Linked DNA regions of Homo sapiens: region 2 is linked to region 1. Evidence: promoter capture Hi-C in 16 types of primary human blood cells and fetal thymus (Javierre and others, 2016). All regions are on one chromosome and are shown on one strand. The core of a region is centred on a gene start or on the middle of the fragment in contact, and the rest is flanking DNA. Distances in the headings are between cores, read along the strand shown. Region 1 holds the start of MMP15 (matrix metallopeptidase 15). Region 2 overlaps CSNK2A2 (casein kinase 2 alpha 2).

Region 1 (5,683 bases), core at 3,171-5,670:
TTGCTGACTCAGAAAACACATCTCCAGGACCAAAGCATTGCTCCTGCTGGAGTGTCCAAGACAGGGAGCCACCTAAGCCTTGGGATGATATGGAGGATACCCATTCTGATTTGATCTGGAAAGTAGTGGTTCTCATAGTGACCACCACAGCTAGCCTGAGGCAGAGGTCAAACTCCCAGCAGGGCAGAGGTGATGATGGAAGGGATCATCTGGACCAAACAACAAAAGGGCCACAGAGGGACAGCAGAACAAACCGCTCGGCAGGGAGGGGCTTTTCCACGCCTGCAGTGTAGCCATCCTGAATGGGCATAAGAGATAGCAGTGGGCACTGGGCTTTTGGGGAAAGTCTTCTTTTGGGGGTGGGGATAGCGTGTATTTCCATGTTGCTCCTCTCCACATTCATGGATATCTTTTAAGTATCAACATCCCTTGGGGTGGGGCAAAGGAGGTATTTATGTTCAGAGGTCACAATGGGAAGGTCAGGCCAATACACTGCTCAGACAAGGAGCTTACACTGGGCTGTTCTCTGCAAGGAGACAGATGACTGGCTGGACCCAAGGGCAGCCCCAACTCGGAAACATGGCAAGGGCTGGGTGTGAAGGGCATGGCCCAATGAGATCTAGGTCCCTGGCTGTGCCAATCAGACCAGTTCTCTCTGGGTCTTGACAGAGCATGGAGAGGAGTGATTTACTACTAGCAAGAAAACAGAGTAAAAAGCAGAGACAAGAGGGGAGGGGGAGAAGATTCAGCTTCTGCAGATTCCCAATGACAAGGCCCCGCTATTAACTCCCTTTTCTTAGCTGGTGGGCACAGATGGCATCTGTAGTTTTGCTCTGTTTAAAAGAAAGAGGGGACCAGTGGGGCCCCCCCGGAGCCAGCATGGAAGTGCTAGTAGAGACTGAAGCTAAGGAAGCCCAAGACTGTGGCTCACCTGAAGGTCAAAATGGTAATTCACGCTGACCCCCTCCCAACGCCCCCACCCCCGCTGCCTCATCTACTCAGTGGCTGGGTAGGGGCTAGGAAGATACTCGTGGGCCTGTTGAGGAAAGGCGGGTGGATCGGTTTTGGTGGTGGTGGCACCACCCCTGTGAACTCTGGCAGCCTGAGTCACCTCCACAGAGCAGGCTGAGGACCTGAATTGTGCCTGGGAGGAGGGGGTAGGGGGAGGCAGGTGAGATAAGAGCTCCCCCGGTGAGCCTGGAGACTCTCAGCCCTGCAGGGCAGGAACAACAGTGAGCACCTCAGCCAGGTGGGGATCTGGCCCGGAATGGCTACAGACTGGGATTGGACATCCAAGGGAGAATGTGGGATAGGACGTGGCAGCTCAGTGGTGGGCTAGGGCCTGGCAGGTTGCAGGTGTTTGTCAGTTCCTAGCACATGCCAGGCTCCTTGATGTCTCAGCCTCGTGAAAGTCCTGTGGCTTCCACCCTGGGAGGGGAGAGAGGAAGTGGAGAGAGGCTGGCCTTGGCTCAGCTGCCAAGCTGCTCCGAGAAGGTCCCAGCTGTGACCCTACTGGAGGCCTGAGGCTGTGTGGATGCTGGGGTGAGGATGAGAGAGCCAGCCTTCTCCAAGGAAGGGAGGCTCAACACAGGGTGTAGGCCAGGCCCAGGAGTCTGAGGCCACAGCCCCCGGCAGATGGGCTGGCTGCTGAGGCCATTTGACTCTTTGGGCCCACATGTGGCCAGACCTGATGGGACCCTAGAAGCAGCCTGTACCCAAAGCCAACTGTAGGAGCTGGGACACTCCACCTGTCTCTAGCCCTCTATCTGCATGGCTGCCAACATTCAAGGCTCCTTAAACCTTCCGGGGTCTCTTCCAGTCACTGCCCAGGTCCAACCCAAGTGTTTCCCCAGGAGTAGGGCTCCAGGACAGTCACAACCTCCAGATCAGGAGCACGGTTTGTGATAACGCAACCATGGCTTCTTCCCTGGCGGCATCGAGCTGTGGGCACTCCCTGAGCTGGGGAGTTGGGGTAGGGGTGAGATGGAACTGGAAAAGCAGAAGAGAGAGAGAGTGAAGCCCCTCCAACTACAGGTCCCTGCACCCCTGAGCTCCTGGCCAGCTAGGATGCCATTAGCAATGCACGGCCATTGAATTCCATCACTGCTTCCTATGTATTGACGCCATCCCTAAGTAGATTAGAAACTCAATGGTGGGACTGTGACTTGAAATTCTTTGGCACTCCAGCCCAGAGTGGCAGGTGGGCCCAAATGGCACTCTCCGCCCAGTACTTGGGTCACAGGCTGAGGGGTAATCCTCACCAACAGGAGCCCCCTAAAGCTCCTCCTGCCTGTGTGAATGGGGTGGGGGAGGGTGGCCAGACTGGGTCGGGGCGGGGCTCCTATCCTGCCTCCCACCAGGGCCTGGCTCCTCCTTCAGCTCTCCCTGGCCAGGCCAGGGAGGGAGGGCAGAGCAGGTGGGGAAATGGCTGGGAGGTGTAACTCGAGCCCAGGAGGAATTCCCTGCCCTTCCTCTATGCTTTTATTAAAGTAGGGCGGGGAAGGGCAAGCTTCCATCGGAAAAATCTCCCAGGCAGCCCGGAGAGGTGGGAAAGCCGCCGTGGGCCAGGGAGGGAGCACCAGCTGAGCTGCAAATAGAAACGGCGCTCAGGCCCGCAGCCCGGGCAGCCCAAGGGCACCAAGGCCTGAGCACCGTTCAGAAGCGGCTCCGGGGTGGTTCTTTCTCCCTACTCCCCGCCCAAGTCCTCTCCCCGCCTATCTGGGGCAGGGCGCAGGTCTTAGAAGTCGGGGAAGAGTGGACCCTGCTCTTGCTCTGGGGCAAGAAAGCTGGCGCCTTCGGTGTCCTCGCTCGGGAGACACCATGGAGCTGGGGCGCTGGCTGGACTCGGCTCTACGCCGGGATGTCGCGCCTGGTCACCCGCGGGACCCATCCAGAGCGGGGCCCCGGGAGGGACGCCAAGCGGGCTCCTAGCGAAGAGAGGCGCGGGGTCCACCCTCTCGAATCCAGGGCTTCGACGTAGGGGCGCTGTTGGGAGGAAGCGCTGTGGGAGGCAGGGTCCGTCCTTAGGACCCCGCCCGGGCGTGCCTAGGCTTCCTCGCAAAAGCGCAGAAAGTCGCCAAAGCGCCCCCGCAACCCGAGTCCGCTGCCTCAGCCGTTTGCACCCATCCCCCCGCCTCCATCCTGGCCCGCCGTGCGCGGCTCGGTATCACCCAGACGGGAGGCCACCTGGGCAGGAGCGCAGTTGCCCAGCCGCCCAGCTCTTGCTCCGCCTGTGGCTGTCCCCGAGAGCAGCCCCCTCCCCACTCGCAAAGAGCGCCACTGCGCGCCAGCCGGGCTCTCGAGGAATCGGCTGCCCTGGAGGGAAGGAAGGAGGGGAGGCAAGGGCTGGGGGCGGCGGAAGCGGCTCCCGGGACACAGGCTGAATGTAAGGGGGTCGGGGTGGGGGCTCAGTGCCCAGAACAGGGCTGTAGGAGTAGCGGGGAGGAGAGCGAGGCCCTGCGCCCTCAAGGGTTTGCGAAGAGGTGCGCTGCAGAGGGCGAGCTGGGGAGGGGCAGACTGCCAAGTCCGCTTGCTTCCCCGCCACGGCCCAGAACAGGGGGCGCGTCTCCGCTCCCTCCACCTCCAAGTCCCAGCCTGCGGACGTGGCGCCTCTCCCTCCAAGCCCCCAGCCCGCAGCCAAAGGGCAGGGCGGGGGTCTTACCTCGGCATGGACCTCCGCGTCTTCGGCCGCTACGCCAAGGCCCAGGCAGCCCAGAAGCACCAGGAGCAGCGGCAGCAGTCGCGGCCGCGCCGCCTCCTCCCGGTCGCCGAGGAGGCTGCCCGTCCAGCCCGGCCGTCCGGGCGCGCTCGGGTCGCTGCCCATGCTCTCGGCGCCCAGCCCAGCTCGGAACACTGCACGCCGGATCCTCGCACGCGCCTTGGAAACTTGCGACGCTCCCTGGCTCCTGGCCCGGCAGGCGCGCCGCGGACCTCGGGCTCCCGGTCCCCGCCGGAGCCGCCTAGGTCGCCTCGGCAAATTCCCAAGCCCGAGGAGAAGCGGGCAGGGCAGGTCCGGGAGCTCGGAACCAGCCGGCGGGAAAGGGGGCCGACCGGAGCTGCCCCCGGCGAGGTTCCGCAGCCTCGGCGCCCAGCGCCTGGGGCCCGGCTCCCGAGAGCAAGCGCAACTCCGGAGCCTTTGTCTGGCTCAGCGCTCCGGCCGCCCGGTCCCGCGGCGCTCCCTGCGCGCCCAGCTCCCTCTGTCCATGCCCGGGGCCGGGCGCTGCCCGGAGCGCGCGCCTCCTGCACGGGGATTCTGCTCGCCGCCGCGCCCGACCGGGCCCGGGTCCCCAAGCAGTCCCGGGAGGAGGCGCAGGGAGCCGACCCGAGAGAGCGAGCGAGAGAGCAAGCGAGCCAGCCAAGGAGCGGGCGCCCGACGTCCCCGGCGAGTTCAGCGCGGCTCCGGGCGCTCCCAGCCCTCCTCCCCGCGCGCCGCGGCCGCCGCGCTCTTAAAGGGCCAGTGTGCTCCCAATGCGCGGACCCGGGCGGGGACCGGGGGCGGTGCCCCAGCCGCAGGCTTCTCACAAGCAGGTGCGGGCGGCCGAGGCCCGACAGGTGGGCGGTCCGTTTACGCTTCCCAGACGGCAGGAAACCTCTCCAGCCCACCCCGCGTCACTCCCAACCCAGCGCCTAGGGGGCGGGGGTGACCTCCAACGCGACCCCCCGCGGAGGGAGGAGGCAGGGAAGGCGTGGTCTCCCCGCCTGGGAAGAATGAAGACTCCTCCTTCTCATACCTGGTGGGGGATACCGAGGCCTAGGCGGACGGGAAGGAGGTCTTAGGGGAGGGATCAAAGAGTCGTTTTAGGCTTAAATATAAATATATATGTATATATGGATATTTGTCAGCCTGAAACCTCTTTTCAAAAGCCGCAGGGTGTCTCTGGCCATTGAATAACTTTCCTCAGTAGCAAAGTGAGGGTTTTGTGCGCGTCGAGGGCGCGTTGCGGCGGACAAGGGGCAGGTTTAGGAGGGACACGGTTCAAGTTCCGCGTCCGCCCCTTAGCTGCCGCTTGCACGTGGGCAAATTAATCTCTCCGAGCCTCCATGTTCTTATCGGGAACGTGGGGCAAAGAGTTGGGGTGAGGGCGAGGTAAGACTTCCGGCTCCTGGCCTGGCGCAATAGGTGCCCAAGCACTTTGGCCACTGGCTGGTGCGAGTGAAGTGCGACAGTGCGGCCGGAGTCGGCGCGGGGCGGGTGGACACACCTCCCCGCGAAGCTTAACGAGCTGGATTTCATTCTATTCCGGAAGCAGCTTGAGGTCGGGGCGGGGTGGATGCAGGAGGCCAGAGCTGGGAGGCCCGGGTCGAAGGTCCACCGAGACCCGGGGACCAGGCCAAGGGCAGCCCTGGCGCGGCGGACTGGCCGGCGTGGTCAGTGGGTGAGGGTTGCAGGCAGGAGGGCGGAGACCGAAGATAAGCTGTTCCTTATCTTCAGACCCGGAAATGGAAGCCGTCCTCACCTGAGGGCGGTTTTCTCTAGAGCAGGCCCTCGGGGCACCCTAGCCGGCCTCACCTCCCGGAAACTGGAAATCAGGAGACCTGGCAGAGTGCCTTAGAGAGGGCGCGTTTGAACCCTCCTGGGATGTCCTTGGGGAAAGGAAGTCGGAGTTTAGAGAAAGGAACCGGGCGATTCTATCATTTCCACGGACTCACTTCTCTGTGGGATCCTTCATCTGGGAAGTTGGTT
Region 2 (5,859 bases), core at 2,751-5,250, 140 kb before region 1:
GGGTTCAAGCAGTTCTCCCGCCTCGGCCTCCTGAGTAGTTGGGATTACAGGCACGCACCACCACACCTGGCTAATTTTTGTATTTTTAGTAGAAACGGGGTTTCACCCTGTTGGTCAGGCTGGTCTCAAAACTCCTGACCTCGTGATCTGCCCGCCTTGGCCCCCAAACTGCTGGGATTACAGGCGTGAGCCACCACGCCTGGCCATAACAAGCATTCTATATTGTATACTCTTGGTTCAGGGAAAAGCACAGATCGAGGGAGCTTATTCCTGGAATGCTAATCCTAGGGCTCATTCTCTGCCTTGTGTACTCCTCCAGCATGAAGAAGTCCATTCAAGTGTCCTCAAGAGTCTAGTTTATTGCTTCTTATCCAGGTCAAGCTTGTCCCCCAGGGGACATTGGGCAAAATCTGGAACCATTTTTGGTTGTTAAAACTGGAGGGGGGCTCTAGTGGTAGGTAGAGGACAGGGATTCTACTTGAAGAGTATTTCATTGACCTTGTGTAGGATTCAGGTGCTTGTTAAGATTAGCCAAAGGTCCTGAATTTGAAGTTTATGAAGATAGTTATTATGTTAGGCAAGGGAGATTTAGAAGCAAATTTTTACATTAAAAAAATGGAGCTTAACAATCTAATAAATGATTGAAAGATTTGAATCAGCATTTCTCCAAAGAAGATTTAGAATGGCCGGTAGACACATAAAAAGAAGTTCCACTTCATCACTCATTATGGAAATAAAAATCAAAACCACATGGAGATACCACTTTACACCCACCAGCAAAGCTATAATCAAAAAGTTGAACAATGACAGGTGTTGATGAGAATGTGGAGAAACTTGAACCCTCAGGTTGCTGGTGGGAGTAAAAGTGACGCAGCCACTTTGGAAGATAATTAGGCAGTTTCTTAAAAGTTTAAACACAAATTTAGCATACAACCCAGCACTTCCACCCCTAGGAATCTACCCAAGGGAAATGAAAGCATGAGTGGAAACAACCCAAATGTCCATCAGCTAGTAGTGGAATACTACTCAGCAAGGAAAAACAACTTGGATGAATCTCAGAAACAGTATACTGAAGGAAAGAAGGTAGACAAAGCACTATACATGTATGATTTCATATTATGAATGTACAGAAAAGGCAAATCTATACCAGCAAATAGCAGGTCAGTGGTTGTGGGCAGGGCACGGAGGGGTTGGGAGAAGTTAGGAAAGGGGATTGACTACAGACAAGCTCAAGAAAAATTTTAGGAGTGATGGAGATGTTCTAAAACTGGATTGTGGTAATGGTTGCACAGCTTTTTAAATTTGTGAAAAACCATTATATACATAAAATCTTATCTGCATATCAATCATCTTAAACAAAGCAATTTTCTCCCTTGGAATAATATGTAATGATAATTGTTTTTTTTTTGAGACCCGCTTTGTTGCCCAGGCTGAAGTGCAATGGTGCCATCTCGGCTCACTGCAACCTCCGCCTCTCAGGTTCAGGCAATTCTCGTGCCTTAGCCCCACAAGTAGCTGGGACTAGAGGTGCCCACCACCTTGCCTGGCTAATTTTTTGTATTTTTAGTAGAGGTGGAGTTTCGCCATGTTGGCCAGGCTGGTCTTGAACTCCTGACCTGAAGTGATCTGCCTGCCTCCGAAAGTTCTGGGATTACAGGCATGAGCACCATGCCTGGCCTTATAATGATAAGTCTTAAAGGCTAGCTGGCTCAGGGATTATATTAAGGAAAATACTAATACTTGGTCATCTAGAAAACCCACGTGGGACCCTTATGTACAAAATAAGCCATACTGAAAGATGTATTTGAATGTCATTCTTCATGTCCACATAGATGCTGGTCTGTCCTTTGAACCATTATGAGAGGTGACTCCAGTGAGGTTCCAAAGTCTGGTTTATCATCCCACACACACACCCCCCTCCCCACTGCCCGCCTTTCTTGCCCAGGCTGGAGTGCAGTGGCACCATCTCAGCTCACTGCAGCCTCCACCTCCCAGGTTCAAGCAGTTCTCCAGCCTCAGCCCAGTCGAGTGGCTGGGATTACAGGCACGCACCACCACGCCCAGCTAACTTTTGTATTTTTAGTATAGCCGTGTTGCCCAGGCTAGTCTCGAACTCCTGACCTCAAGTGATCCACCTGCCTCGGCCTCCCAAAGTGCTAGGATTACAGGCATGAGTCACTGTGCCTGGCCTCATCACCCCCTCTTTTAAAGAAATCTTCCTCGGCTGGGCACAGTGGCTCACACCTGTAATCCCAGTACCTTGGGAGGCCGAGGCTGGCGGATCACGAGGTCAGGAGATTGAAACCATCCTGGCTAACACGGTGAAACCCTGTCTCTACTAAAAATACAGAAAATTAGCTGGGCGTAGTGGCAGGCACTTGTAGTCCTAGCTACTCGGGAGGCTGAGGCAGGAGAAGGGCGTGAACCCGGGAGGCAGAGCTTGCAGTGAGCCGAGATTGCACCACTGCACTCCAGCCTGGGCGACAGAGCAAGACTCCATCTCAAAAAAAAAAAAAAGAAATCTTCCTCATAGCCCTTGCCATTCCCTTCATACCCCCTTTCTACCAGCTGTAGTGTGCAGAGAGAGCAAGGGGTGCCTTCTGAAGCACGCTTTTTTTCTCTTTCATTACAGGCAGCAAGCTGCCCGTTGGGGGACTGTATTCAAGTCAAGGTGTCACAAACAATAAGACTATGCTTGCGTTGGGGGATGGTAGAGGGGTTGCTTACTATTATCTGTGCTTTCTTACCTAATAGGCTCTGGATTACTGCCACAGCAAGGGAATCATGCACAGGGATGTGAAACCTCACAATGTCATGATAGATCACCAACAGAAAAAGGTACCATTACAGCCAGGCAGCAACAAGCTTGATTAAAAGGCTTAGAGCAGACCAAAAAGCTGTCCAGTGCCATGATGGTTTCTGTAGACCCGTGGTGGGTTTTTTGGCAAACTTTCGTTACTGTGATTTCTCCCATCTCCATTGTTGATTTCTACTTTGTATAGTGTAGTACACAAGGAAAGTAGACGGTTTAACTATAGTAACTAACTATAGTCACTTGTTTATTTTGGTCATAGTTTTCTGGAGGGCCTCAGAAAGAAATTACAGCTGGTGGTTTCTGCTTCATTTCTTGATGACCCGCAGACCAATCTGCCTGGCCTTAAAAGAACACTTGGGTCCCTCCTATTTTTGATATCCAACTCTGTTGGCCCTAATCAGTGAGTAAATGGATCATCTAGTATTAGACGAATAAATCATTAGAGCAATGCTTCAGTCCTGGAGTGGGATGTGTGTCCCCAGCCCTTTCACTGACGCCTGGAGCTTATAACGAAAAGCTATGAATGATGGGAGAATGTGTTACCAAGTGTAACTGCCTACAGTTTCTGAATGTGGGCAGAAAAAAAGGTTGAGCTCTGTTGATCTAGAGAGAGGGATGAACCAGGATAATTTAAAATTTTTTCAAAAAGCATTTCAAGTGTTCTGCTCTAAAAATGACCTCTTGCACGATTGCTGAAAATGTAATTTTTAAGCCAGTGCACCTGCTCACATTTTTTGTGTGGCCAAATGATTGTTACCTAATGTGATGTGGCCTTGTTCTAAGGCATAGGCGTCTAGAAACACTCCTTTCACATGTTTTTTTCTGTCCTATTTGTAGCTGCGACTGATAGATTGGGGTCTGGCAGAATTCTATCATCCTGCTCAGGAGTACAATGTTCGTGTAGCCTCAAGGTACTTCAAGGGACCAGAGCTCCTCGTGGACTATCAGGTAAACTTGTTAGCAGAGCTATTCTGGGTTATTTATACTTGCTTAGGGCTTTTCTGGTTTGCTGTTGATCTAGTCAGTTTGAATACACTCAAAACCCAGCCATTATTTCACCCTAAAATGCTGATTTTAGTTTTTTCTCAGCTAGTTTTTTGGGGGGACAGAGAAGTTTTTAAATCTAAAATATCTGCAAAGGTTAAATGAAGACTAGAAATTCAGATCATTTCTAGGAGCCAGGAAGTTAAAAAAAATTTTTTTTAAATAAATTATCTATGGCCATACCACCCTGAACACGCCCAATCTCGTCTAAAAAAGAAATTTATATCAGAAAAATGGATTTCTAATACCCTTGGCTAATGCGTTGTCCTTATTGCCTCAGATGTATGATTATAGCTTGGACATGTGGAGTTTGGGCTGTATGTTAGCAAGCATGATCTTTCGAAGGGAACCATTCTTCCATGGACAGGACAACTATGACCAGGTGAGCAAATGCTTTCTGGTTCTTATTTATTTGGGGGTGAATGCCAAAAAAATAGCATCCTTAGATAAGAATACTATCCTTGAGCCACTAAGTATCACTCAGTGTCTGCATATGAGCTTTTCTTCAAGATAAAGATCGCACAGAATTTTGTGTTTACCAGGTCCGCAGAAGTAGAGGCAGATAATGCCATCTATGCCAAACTTCCAAAGTGAATCTGTGAAGAAGTCAGGCACCTCCTTGTCTAATAAAACTAGATTTTAGTCATTAGATTGTGATGCCCTGTACTGGTCCACCTCTAGAAGATTATTATCGTAAGTTGTATTATTTTAAAGGCCGTTTGGAAATTTGCATTCATGTGAACTTCTTGTCCTTGGGTCTGTCTGCCTGCCCTGGACCTGGGTTTGTATCTCGTTCCTAGAGGTTTAGTGGTGTGGAAGTCTTCTGATTCCTTGGTGCAGTGTCCTCACGGGCTCATGGTGTGTTCTGTGCTCAGTGATTTGGTCAGTTTGTTTTGTGTTTCAGCTTGTTCGCATTGCCAAGGTTCTGGGTACAGAAGAACTGTATGGGTATCTGAAGAAGTATCACATAGACCTAGATCCACACTTCAACGATATCCTGGGACAGTAAGTAAGAGAGAGAGAGAGAGTGCTTTACCTTACCCCGTTTCAGAAGTGGAAAGGTTAGCCAAAATCACTTTCTTTTCCCATTCTGATTATAGTAAAATGGAAGTAGCCCTCTTTTTTCCTATGCATATTTTCTTTTAACTTATTGAGATATTTGGACTTTATGTCTTTTAATCATTTTACTTCTCTGAGAGATAACCTATTAATAGAAAAGGTAAAACAAAAATCATAATGTTATAGAAAAAAGTTTTCTGGTACAGCAAAAGCTTATTTTTAATGGCCAAACTTGGAGAGCAATGATTCTTTGAATAAGAGACTTAGTTTGTTTTTTATTATATTTTATTTTATTTACTTCATATCTCTTCAAGGTGGACTTACAATTTCTTCTTGTTCTCTGTAATGGATTTTCTATACAATAGCAAATTTTAAAGCACATTGAGTTTTCAGGTACATTGCAATAATGTTGAGAAGTAAACATTTTGTTAACAGTTTTCAAACAGTATTTTATGGAACCTCCCTGTTTCTGAGGCTAGCCCTGGGAAATATATCTGCTGACCAATAAAAATTGCCCACTCTTCTGCATGCCACCCAGAATTGACTAAAAGTCTACAGCATAAAAAATAATCTAGAAAGGTTCCACATATTCTAAATGAGATATAGAAGTTTTACCTAGTTGTATTTTTCTAATCACAGAGCACCATTGTGTTTCAGGATGCTATGCTGTAACTATGGGGCCGTAGGGCAGGCACCAGTTAGAGATTTAACAAGCTTGTAATCAGTACATTATTCTGAGATTTTGTTGGCTTTAGCCCTAGTAGATAAGGATTCTTGTTGAATTTAGTCTCTGGTTACTAATGCTTCATTTTTCTTCTCAGACATTCACGGAAACGCTGGGAAAACTTTATCCATAGTGAGAACAGACACCTTGTCAGCCCTGAGGCCCTAGATCTTCTGGACAAACTTCTGCGATACGACCATCAACAGAGACTGACTGC

The links. The method cuts DNA at HindIII sites, captures the fragments that hold promoters and counts their contacts. A CHiCAGO score of 5 or more calls a contact.
Region 2: a contact is called between a fragment that was not itself captured here and the fragment with the promoter of MMP15 in region 1, in 1 of 17 cell types (endothelial precursors). The highest score is 5.1, in endothelial precursors.

What each region holds. Positions count from the first base shown.
Region 1 is chr16:58,024,491-58,030,173 of GRCh38, reverse strand. It overlaps MMP15 (matrix metallopeptidase 15), which reads right to left and starts at 4,420. Exons shown (of 10, transcript NM_002428.4): 1 at 3,662-4,420. The coding sequence starts at 3,823. RefSeq lists enhancers at 2,756-3,305, 3,856-4,405, 4,638-5,223, 5,224-5,683 and a silencer at 4,272-4,411. The HindIII fragment of the contact is 2,704 bases long and covers 2,512-5,215 here.
Region 2 is chr16:58,165,589-58,171,447 of GRCh38, reverse strand. CSNK2A2 (casein kinase 2 alpha 2) reads left to right here. Exons shown (of 12, transcript NM_001896.4): 6 at 2,755-2,838; 7 at 3,653-3,763; 8 at 4,140-4,241; 9 at 4,764-4,864; 10 at 5,740-5,859. Among named protein-coding and RNA genes, the nearest start is that of CSNK2A2, 30 kb to the left of the region's middle. The HindIII fragment of the contact is 2,265 bases long and covers 2,868-5,132 here.